2 separate regions of the Homo sapiens genome follow, and region 2 is linked to region 1. Evidence: promoter capture Hi-C in human tissues and cell types (Jung and others, 2019). All regions are on one chromosome and are shown on one strand. The core of a region is centred on a gene start or on the middle of the fragment in contact, and the rest is flanking DNA. Distances in the headings are between cores, read along the strand shown.

Evidence for each region. Contacts are between HindIII fragments. The study calls those that stand out against the background at their distance.
Region 2: a fragment that was not itself captured here is called in contact with the fragment with the promoter of DEPDC1B in region 1 in 1 of the 25 tissues and cell types used here (hippocampus).

The regions. Positions count from the first base shown.
Region 1 is chr5:60,697,713-60,703,640 of GRCh38, reverse strand. It overlaps DEPDC1B (DEP domain containing 1B), which reads left to right and starts at 3,475. Exons shown (of 11, transcript NM_018369.3): 1 at 3,475-3,595. The coding sequence starts at 3,548. It overlaps LOC124900982 (a long non-coding RNA gene), which reads right to left and starts at 3,401. Exons shown (of 2, transcript XR_007058779.1): 1 at 3,300-3,401; 2 at 1,554-1,987. The HindIII fragment of the contact is 4,370 bases long and covers 786-5,155 here.
Region 2 is chr5:62,356,922-62,362,849 of GRCh38, reverse strand. It overlaps KIF2A (kinesin family member 2A), which reads right to left. Exons shown (of 21, transcript NM_001098511.3): 8 at 5,105-5,159; 9 at 4,551-4,713; 10 at 1,518-1,608; 11 at 1,321-1,384; 12 at 309-400. Among named protein-coding and RNA genes, the nearest start is that of DIMT1, 44 kb to the left of the region's middle. The HindIII fragment of the contact is 5,869 bases long and covers 404-5,928 here.

The DNA of each region.
Region 1 (5,928 bases), core at 2,226-4,725:
AAAACAGCAACTTCCCCCTACCACCCTCTCCACTTTAGTCTTTTACTTTTCTTCCCAGTACTCAATCACCACCTGATATATAATACATATTTGAATGTATTATAGCTGGCTTGTCATCCCTTCCTCTACTTAGGAGTCAGCTCCTAGAAGCTGCATTTTATCTATTGCATGATTTCAGACTGGAATTATACCTGACACACAGTAGTGTATTCTTACATACTTGCTGAATAAGTGAATGAACAAATGTAAAACCTCGATTTCTTTGAGGCATTTATTTATTTATTTAGAGACAAGATCTCACTCTGTCACCCAGGCTGGAGTGTAGTGGGGCGATCTTGGCTCACTGCAACTTCCACCTCCCAGGTTCAAGCGATTCTCCCACCTCAGCCTCCTGAGTAGCTGGGACTACAGGAGCGTGCCACCACAGCCAGATAATTTTTGTATTTTTAGTAGAGACAGTGTTTTGCCATGTTGCCCAGGCTGGTCTTGAACTCCTGGGCTCAAGTGATCCACCTGCCTTGGTCTCCCAAAGTACTGGGATTATAGGCATGAGGCATCGCTGGATGACACCATTTTATTGACCCTTTTGTAGAGAAATAGTGTGTGTGTTTGTGTTGCGTGAGTGCAGAAGTCTGGGAAGGGTGCTGCACAGCATTGTCCAGCGTTGGGGAGATGTCCCTGGCCCGTGCAATGACTCTTTGTGTCTTCTGATATGTAGATCCTTTGGAAGTATGCCTTTCTAGTAACAGCCATCTTGTCTATGGCTAATAACAGGCTCTTGGGAAATGCTCAAGAAGCTGGCATGATTTTTTTAAAAAAATATATAGTTCTTTTTATTACTGCTATATGCTGGGCACTTTAAATACATGCTGGGCACTATATTTAGCACTTTACATACATCCTTACAACTCTGCAAGATAATCATTAATATTCCCAGTTTACCAGTGAGTAGATGGAAATTAAATAATTAGCTTGAAGTCACTCCACTGGTAAGCAGTACCAGTCATTATTGAAATCCAGATCTATGGAATTTCACAGTCTGTGATACTTACCGAACTAGAAAGCTGCATAATGCTGGACATAATGTTTTGTATCAGATTCTAGTTTCACCACCATGATAGGTGGTGGCAGGTCTCAGACAAGGCTTTAAAATTCCCTTTCTCCTGCTTCTTGTGTCAAGGACACAAGTATCTCTTTATATTCCTTGCCAAGGACAAGAAGATCTCTTCCATGGAGCTTAGAGGTTAAAAGAAAAAAAGTTCTGATAAGGATTCACTTACTGGAAGTAAGAAAAAAATTTTAAATTGCTTTTTCTAATTACAAAAGCAATATATATGTATCATCTCAGGACATTTCTTGGGCTAAATAAAAACCTAAGGCAGCAAATGGGTGGTGGTAGTGGTGTGGTTTTGAGGATGAGAAGAGGTGGTCCAATCCCTTACTTAGATCTTTCTTATGATGTTATAGGGGAGCCAGAGATCACCTCCAAGCTCCCTTTTACCTCTTAATGAGCTCTCCAGTTGTATCTAGAAACCACACTGACACCAGGAAGATTACCAGGAGAAAAGTATACACATTTTATTAGTTTTATGTGCACATGGGGATCTTCACAAGAGAGTGAAGTCTGAAGAAGTGGCCAAAGTAAGATGCTTTTATTCATTTTTTTAGGTAAAGAGAGATAAATTTGAGAAGAAAAGCCATGACAAAGAAAATCTGGTTAAGGTGTTACAGTAGGTAGCTAGTCAGGCATGAGCAGGGCAGGAGAGGGCTCCCCCTCATACACACACACATCAGGAATGTCAGGCAGCCATCAGGTGATGGTCAGGTGGTTGTTAATTGTCTCTCTAAAATAATAGTTGGTCACAGCCGGCACCAGGGAAAGGCAGTCTCCTAATAGAAAACACTTGAACTGTTGATCAGCAGCTTCCCGATAAGATCTTAGGAGTTGGGCAAGTGGGCTCAAGTATGCGCCTGTGGACAGCTCACTCTAAGGGAAGAATCAGGAGAGAAGTAATGCAAAGCCCCAAAAGCAAGACCCCAGAAGTATGCCAACGTATAAAACCCCAGGTCAAAAGGTCAAACTACGCACTAGATCTCTCAAGTCACTGGCTTGGCCCTCTTCCAAGTGTACTTCCTTTCATTCAAAGCTTTTTAATAAACTTCACTTCTGTTCTAATACTTGCCTTGGTCTCTCCTTTTGCCTTATGCCCCTCAGTCGAACTCTTTCTTCTGAGGAGTCAAGAATTGAGGTTGCTGCAGATCTGTAGGAATTCACTGCCTGTAACATACTTTGGGGCCGTGTCTCGGATATGGGCAGCTGCTAACATATTTTGGTGCCCTGTGACTCGAGTTAACTTCCACAGCTCACAAAGGCAGTAACATTTTCTAGGGAGTCACTAGAAGATATATGTAAAAAATCTCCTATATCTCCTAGTGGAAGATAGGGTTACTTCGTTAAGAATGTTTATTCAGGTCCACTGCAGCCTTCAATTCCAAGCCTTTGGTGATAAAGGCTATTTTCTCACCGTGGTAGGGAGAGGATGCCCATCCCAGAGAAATCTTTGTGGCCTGCTGCATCGAAGAGGCAGGTCAGCTTGCCCTTTCTGAAACTACCATTTCTCCAATGTTTTCCGCTCGAAATAATCAATATACCAATTAGGCATATTTTGGAATGGCACACCTTCACTCCTTCAACGTCTTGTCCTGGGTACTTACCGAGATGACCAAATTTGAGTAGGTGTACAGAGTCCTAAGTATATGGAGTTACTTCATTTGTCCCTCTGAAAGATTGCAAATCGGACTAGCAATTCCCAGGGGGAAAATTCTAAGCAGTCAAAAAAGGACTCACAACCCTATTGCCGAGGACTAAAAGTATCAGCCCAATACAAAACATAGAACTCAAATTAAAGGGGAAAAGACTATCATGAGAACAAACAGAAGAGGAATCGGGGCTCCCTTCCCGCTCTTTATTGCCCTTAACACACTGTCTACGCTCCTTGTGCTCTCTATCCCGTTTTTAAATGTCCCTACACTGGTAAAAGCTGTCGCCTCGCTTCATTTCACTACCGCTTCTCCCAGCGTTAGCAGCACCTCCAGGCTCACAGTGCACTTGGTAGGGAGGACAGGTATTTATCCACGCGGCCCAAAGCTGGGTTTCGGTCGCTGGATAACACCTATTATTGACCCTTTTGTAGAGATAGCGTTGCGTGTGTTTGTGTTGCGCGGACGCAGAAATCTGGGAAGGGCGCTGCACAGCGTTTTCCAGCGCTGGGGAGACGCCCCCGGCCCCTTAGTCGCACCTGCCTAGGTGTGCTCGCACGGTGGGACCAGGGTGGGCAACAGATTTCGCCCCGGGCAAGTTCGCACGCGGAGCTCCCAGCGCCGCGGGTCTCGGAGAAGACGCCTGCCTCCCCGCGCATTTCCGGTGACGTGCTGCCGCGCCGCCCAATCAGCGCCCGCAGCCCGCGGGCTTGGGATTCAAACTGCTGCTCCTCCGGCTGGCGGGGATCAGCGCTGGCGCGGCTGCGGCCGCTGCTGCCTACGCGCCATGGAGCATCGCATCGTGGGGCCCGGGCCGTACCGAGCTACCAGGCTGGTGAGTGAGTGTGCTGGGGCCTGGGCGGAGCACCCGGTGCCGCGAGCCCCCACTCAGCGCGCGGACAGAGTGCTTGTCAGTCTTCGCTTCCGCAGGCCAGCGGGGCTCGGGTGTGGAGCATTTCAGCTGGGACTACTGGGGCTGCCTTTTAGTGGACGAGCCTCAAAGAAAGGCTAACGGGGCCCAGAGCTCAGCCGGCCGGGGGTTAGTGCAGCTTTGTCCATGAGATGTTGACTGGGTTCTCGGCAGTAGATGGCGCCTCTCTGTTTAAAGACCCCAAGACCAGGCTGTTCCCTGCCTTTTGTCCTCTGGAATCTAACCGACCCGGTCGGTAACCTGAGGGGCCACCACGTACCCCGTAACGCTCAGCGTTCGCGGCAGTCCAGGCAGGGCGTGTCTCCTTCCTGAGTGACACCTGATGATACCTGACGGGGTATTCGAATAAACGGTGCCCAGAACAGAGGGGCATCGCGCTGGCCGCATTTCCGGCCCCTGGCGTTTCTGTTTCTGTCAGCACCGATCCAGATGAAGAGCTGGCCAGGACAGATGTTTTAGGAGAGTCTTTGCCGACTCTGAGTTCCTGTTTTTTTTTTTTTTTTTTTCTGGGAGAAAAGCTTTGGTATTGAGGTGTACTTGGTCTGCTTTGACTTGGAACAATAAAGGGTGACAGTTTGGTAATGTCTGTGGCAAGTTTTTAGAGGACTTTCTGTGGAAGTGTAATGGTAATTTGGGAGGACAGTAACTTGCTCCTTGGTCTGCCGACCTCTCTGGCCACATTTAACATGGGAATTACTCTCATAGTTCCATGCATTATAATGAATACACAGGAAAAGATGGGAACTAACATCCAAACTCTTACTCAGCTAGACTCATGGAAGAGGTGAGGATGCTGGGATACAGATAATGTAAATAGAGTTTCCTTTTCTTTCCAAAGCCAGCCACACACTATACCAGTAAGTCAAGCCAGAGCTGAGAAGGCCAGCTTCTGGAAGAGAAATCATAGTTGGGGCTGATGGGTCTTTACTTTTTAAATTTGGCTCATAGATCGCTTTGAGAATCTGATGAAGATTAAGGATCTTCTTCACAGAAAACTGCACATGGCACATACTCATGAAATTTTACATGATTTAAGGGGATGGATCGCTTGAGGTCAGGAGTTCGAGACCAGCCTGGCCAACACAGCAAAACCCCGTCTGTACTAAAAATACAAAAATTAGCTGGGCATGGTGGCATGCGCCTATAGTCTCAGCTACTCAGGAGGCTGAGGCAGGAGAATCTCTTGAACCTGGGAGGCAGAGGTTGCAGTGAGCTGAGATCGCGCCATTGCACTCCAGCCTGGGCAACGAGCGAAACTCCATCTCAAAAAAAAAAAAAAATAATAAGGAGATTGGGAGAGTCTGTGACATTGTTTTATTTGGCATAAAGACAAGCATTTTATTTGCTCATCCTTTGGATCAGTAATCTGGGCTAGACTCATGTCAATGGTTCTTTTGTGGAGGTCACTCATGTGCCACAAATAATGTGACTTGGCTATTACTGGATGATGGAAGATGGCTGCTTGACTTGGTCCTGGCTGTTACCTGGGCCAGATATCTCTAACAGGTTATCGGAGGCATCTTCACGTAGTGGTCTCATGGTTCCAACGTAGCTAAAAGGAAGTTTCAGCTTGTGACTTTTTCTTCAAATCTCATTGGTCAAAGCAAGTTAAACAGCTAAATCCAGATTCTAGAAATTCAACTCCACTTCTTGATGGGCAGGGTGGCAAAGCCACAGAGGTGCATGTGGAGAGGATGGGAAGAATCATTGCACTCATCTTTGCGAACACTCTATACAGTATAGACACCAGAATGATCTGGGGTCAAGAATATTGATAAGTCTAACTTTAGGGAGGAAAATAAGGCATTTGATCATTCCCTTCACCAATTTATTTACAGCACTTACACAAGGAAAACATAGCAAGGCTGTGGTTCTTGACGTGACTAGTCTTCATTCTTCCTGCATTAGACTAAAAAAAAAATACCTCATAATTGGAATTGTATTTTAGTCTCATATTCACAGAATTGTATGAGGTACTTCTTTTCATGGATGCAGAGGGTCCATATATAGATAGTGCTGGATTCTTGAGTCACATTAAAATATTATCAAAGGAATTTGTTTAATTAAAAAAAGGTGCTCTCTGCTCTCTAGAAGTCTTCAGTCCCTAACAAATAATATTCAGGCTAAATTTAGGTTGATTAAGTTAAGAAGATAAATGACATGGATAATTAATGAAACAAACACCTCAGTTTCACCAGAATTTCCCAGGTAATCAATTCAGTTCTCAACTTCATAGT
Region 2 (5,928 bases), core at 2,089-4,588, 1.7 Mb before region 1:
GTGGCAATTAAAATATCAGTTCTATAAAAATGAGTCACCCAGAGTTTAAGAATTATTTCAGAGATTAAAATAATAATTGGAATAAGAATTCTCAACACTGAAGTTGAAAAGTTTCAAAGGACTTTTTAAAAAAATCTCATAACATAAATTCTAATATAAAAGTTCTAAATACACATAAATTATGGTGGTAAACGCTGCACAACAATGTGAATATATTTAATGCCACTGAACTTAAAAATGGTTAAAATGGCAAATGTTATGTTATATATATATTTTAAAAAATTAAAATTAAAAAAGTTCCCACTTACCTTTCCACTATAAATTTCAAAGAAGGTTGCATATACTTGAAGTTCTAGCTTCTTATAGTTTGGCTTCTTTAGCATTAAAAAGACATCTCGAGCTGTCAAAAATTTCATATACAGAAAATTGAGATCCAACAAATATTTTTAAAAAGCAACTCAAATTTTCTATTTCTAGAGGAATCAGTTACTCTTTACCTAGGATAACAGTATCAATAATAAAAATGAGAAAGTGAATATTAATTTTACAAAAAATAGTATTAATAGAAGCTATTCTCTTTCATATGCCATAAAAGGGTGCTACTTTTATTTATATATATTAATATTTATATTTATAAATAGCATAAAATTATAGGTGGTCATAATGAGGTTATTCTTATACCATAGCTAGTAGCTTTTTACAGTTCAGAAATTCAACAATTGAGACTCATCTCCAACAATGTGCTAGAATGCACTGACAAATATAATCAAGATTTCTGCCCCCTCAAAATCAATCTTACAGTTCTTTTTTTTTTTTTTGAGATGGGGTCTTGGTCTGTTGCCCAGGCTGAAGTGTAGTGGCATGATCTTGGCTCACTGCAACCTCTGCTTCCTGGGTTCAAATGATCAAACAATTCTGCCTCAGCCTCCTGAGTAGCTGGGATTACAGGCGCCCGCCACCACGCCTGGCTAAGTTTTTTTTTGTATTTTTAGTAGAGATGGAGTTTCACCATGTTGGCCAGGCTGGTCTCGAACTCCTGACCTCAAGTGATCCACCCACCTTGGCCTCCCAAAGTGCAGGGATTACAGGCATGAACCACCACACCCAGCCTACAGTTCTTGTCTTCTTAAAAAAAAAAAAAATTATTGTGAATATATAATCTTATAGTTCTTTTCAAGCAATCTAATAACCTATAATTGACATAATAGACAGTTAATATAGCATTATAGTTGCTGAACAATATTTTAAAGCCTTATTTCAAAGTTACCTGAATAATACCACAGAAGAATATTCCAAATTTTATGGAAAAAGGACAGTTACCTGCTAATGCATAAATTCCTTTAGAACAATCTTGGTTCTTTCCTGAAAAGTCACCACCCATAGTCTATATTTTAAAAAGAAAATAAAGAACAGACATTACTCAGGAATAACTCTTAAGAATTTAGTTCACAGAATTAAGCTATAAGGAAAAGAAACTGTAGCTTCGTACCAGAATGTAACTTTAATAAATTACTTACATGAGTTTTTCCACTTCCAGTCTGCCCATAAGCAAAGCATGTAGCCATTCCCCTTTCAAATATAGTTTCCACTAGTGGTCTAGCAGTAAACCTTAAAAATAAAATGCATCAGTCAGAATGTGTCACCAATATTTTGATGAATAATAGTAATGCTGAGTAATACAAAGTATTTTATTAATAAATAAAACTTAATAGCAAGATTCTAAACAAATCTTTGTTAAAAATTTTAAATAACAATATCGAAGAATTGATTTAAGAATTTTAAATATCATATGCTAAAATTACTTAAACTACTTAAAGCATAATTTCAAGCAATATTTCCATAATAAATAATGGTCACAATAAGGCATATACAATAAAAACAAACACAAAGTATTATAATTTCAACAGAAACAGAATAAACAAGAGTGGTAATCTCAATTTTAAAAAGTTAATAGAGGAAAAAAACTGCAAAAATATTATCTATAGACCATCTAAATAAATAGAAAAATGTTGATTACCTTGAATTTAGACAAGTAATTTATACTTAAGCAAAAAGAATATAAATTGTGCTTGTAGGAAAATGAATTCTATTAGTAAGTTGACACTCTCAATTTAGGAAAAGGATACCTAAATATTATGGTTTGAATTACATTTTTTTTTTTTTGAGACGAAGTCTCGTTCTCGTCCCCCAGGCTGGAGTGCAAATGGCGCGATCTCAGCTCACTGCAACCTCCGCCTCCCGGGTTCAAGTGATTCTCCTGCCTCAGCCTCCCGAGTAGCTGGGATTACAGGCACCTGCCACCACACCCAGCTAATTTCTGTATTTTTAGTAGAGACGTGGTTTCACCACGTTGGTCAGGCTGGTCTCAAACTCCTGACCACAGGCGATCTGCCCGCCTTGGCCTCCCAAAGTGCTGGGATTACAGGCATGAGCCACCGCACCCGGCCTTGAATTATATTTCAAATGTATTGGTATAACCCACTGCTAGAGTTAAAATAAAAAGGTGGGAAGGTATAAGAAGTACTTTTCCCCTGAGCAGTACACTAAAAAGTATGATGGAGGCCAGGCGTGGTGGCTCATGCCTGTAATCCCAACACTTTGGGAGGCTGAGGTGGGTGGATCACTTGAGGTCAGGAGTTCGAGACCGGCCTGACCAACATGGTGAAACCCCGTCTCTACTAAAAATACAAAATTAGCTGAACGTGGTGGCACACGCCTGTAATCCCAGCTACTCAGGAGGCTGAGGCAGGAGAATCGCTTGAACTGGGAGGCAGAGGTTGCAGTGAGCCGAGATCATGCCACTGCACTCCAGCCTGGGCGACAAGAGCAAAACTCAGCCTCAAAAAAACAAAAAAAAAAAAAGATGGAAAACAGATCTACAAGTAGAACATTTTATATAACTGCTGTCTTTGTTTTGTTTTGTAAAAGGCAAAACTGAAGAAAGTACAGAACAAAAGGAGCAGGAAAAAGTTCTGGTCAAACAGAACTAGGGATGAGCCTGCTAAGTAGATCAAACCCCTACCTCCCAACCCTACCCACAAAAAAACATGTAACTCCTCAATCCATAATAGTTAAGTATAAGAGATAGAGGAGAAGGATAAATATTGATAAAGTTAAGAAACATAAACATAGGGTAAAAACACAATGTTTACTAAATCATACACACAGAAACATGCCTGTATTTGTAATAATTTCTTAAAAACTATTATAAAAGTCAAACTTATATTTTATGAGGCAGGAGTAGAAAGAGGGAATGAAAAGGAAAAGTGGACTCTTCAGAAAGCTAAAAAAAAATTCTACAATTAACAATTATGATTCCCCTTTAAACATATTCTTCACAAATATCTCTATCTAGTATTCATATGTCCTTTAATTTGATCCTTTTTTTTTTTACAACTGACTACCCAGTACACTTGGTGAAGACAAAAAGAGTTGGTCTCAAAAGTATTTCCTTTGTAACACCTTCAATTCTTAGTCTCATTAACTCTAATTTTTTCCTTTCTAGGCATTTTTATGAAAAAGGGCAATCAGATATAGTATTCAAGCAATTACAAAGACAGTAATATTCCTAGATAAACCAAAATAACAATACTGCTAAAACTGGTGTTATAATTATTAGAAATGAATGTTTGCAAACTTACGTATGAAAATCTAAATCTGGCATAAAAATTTGAGATACCAATGTATAACACAGATAAATTTGAATTATTTTTAAGTTGAATACAGAAAACATACAAGAATCTCATGTACTAAAACTATCTCCAAGCTTAAAGATGACAAATTTAAATACAAGTACGGAACTTTTTCGCCTTAAGTGACAATACATACTAAATACAGATTTAGATAAATTAATAATTAACTGATAACAGGTATTTTGGCCAGGCATAACAGTGGCTCATGCCTGTAATCCCAGCACTTTGGGAAGCCAAGGCGGGCAGATCACTTGAGCTCAGGAGTCTGAGGTTAGCCTGGGCAACATGGCGAAACCTCAACTCTACAAAAAGTACAAAAATTAGCTGGGTGTGGTGGTGCATGCCTGTGGTCCCAGCTACTCAGGAGGCTGAGATGGGAGGATCACCTGAGCCTGGAAGGTCGAGGCTGCAGTGAGCTGTGATCGTGCCACTGCACTCCAGCCTGGGCAACAGAGCAAGACCATGCCTCAAACAAACATTTCAAGTTTCTTTATTAGTACAGAGATTAAAAGGTAAAAATTAAAAGTCTTCTTATCATATCCTATTCCTAGAGGTAATGTTAACATTTTCCCGAAATTTCTTATCCATATACATGGTTTGTGTGATATGTATATATATGTATATATATGTGTAATAAGCTAATTAGCAAATAGTAATGGAAACTATGATTTTGGGGAGCATTACAGAGAACAAGTGTTAATATTCATTACAGCATTTATTACATTCTCTTTGTTTAAACTCAGAATAAAACAGCATATTGCACCTCTTAAGAAATATCCCACAATCAATGTAAATTTCAAGGTGCTGATGACCACATGGCATAAGAACAAAATTCTGATTTAAAATGAATTTACCTACCTGTAAACCATTTCATTAGGAGCTGAGTCATCAAAGGCATAATCAAAACGAAATGTTTGGTTTTCTAGGTACCTTGTTAAATCTACTTTTTGTTTTGGTTCATGTACCATCACAACATCTTTACTAGGAATTGTGATTACATCAAGATCTTTCATTTGAGTTTCTAAAAGAATAAATGAAAATCAATGCCCAATAATTTTCACAGCATTTGAGTTCATGTACAAAATTATTTTAAGTAGTAAGAACTAAGATACAAGTAGTAAGTTCTGTACATATAAAGATAATATCCCATAAAAATGCAACTCACTAAGACAAAATATTTCAACAGCAAAGTAAAAACAAAATCAAGATTTCTGTGAAGCAAGACTCGGAATGGCAATGATTCAGAGCAATAACAAACTGACAAGTTTAGCCATAGAAATCTGCATAATGGTTACATACAAATCAAAGGAAATGATTTACATTTTTTCCAAACCAATTTGATTTGCTATTATAAAAATACATTACAAATAAGATAAAATCAATCTTTTATTAGAGCTCATTAAGTGCCATACCTTTTTTATTGAGTGGTCGTTTTCTTACACACACACATATCCTATGTTCATCAATCTAGAAATAAAAAGTATTTTATTTCAGTGATTATTAGTGTCATGTAAAACACTAAAACGTAAATTATGTAATATTTCCTCCAGGGGTTTTAGAAATTTATACATAGCATAAATGATAGGTAAGCTTAAAAAACAAATTAGCTTTGCACAAATTTTAATGGTTGTCAGATATAATTACTTCTAAAATTCTGAGTGTAATGGAAACTTGCTTATTTTGTTATTTGGAAAACCATCACTTTAGGAAATAATTCTGTAGAGGGTACTACTATTGTTAGTAGCATTAAGTTCACATTAAGAAGCTGTGAGGAGGCCGGGCATGATGGCTCATTCCTATAATCCCAGCACTTTGGGAGGCTAAGGTGGGCAGATCACCTGAGGTCAGGAGTTTGAGACTAGCCTGGCCAACATGGAGAAACCCCATTTCTACTAAAAATATAAAAATTAGCCGGGAGTGGTGGTGCATGCCTGTAGTCCCAGCTACTCGGGAGGCTGATGTGGGAGAATCACTTGAACCTGGGAGGTGGAGGTTGCAGCGGGCCGAGATTATGCCTCTGCCCACCAGCCTGGGTGACAGTGAGACTTTATCTCTGGACCAAAAAAAAAAAGAAGTTGTGATGCCAGGCATGGTGGGTAATCCCAGCACTTTGGGAGGCTAAGGTGGGTGGATCACTTGAGGTCAGGAGTTCAAGACCAGCCTGGCCAACATGGTAAAACTCCATCACTACTAAAAATATAAAAACTAGCTGGGCATGGTGGTGCATGCCTGTAAT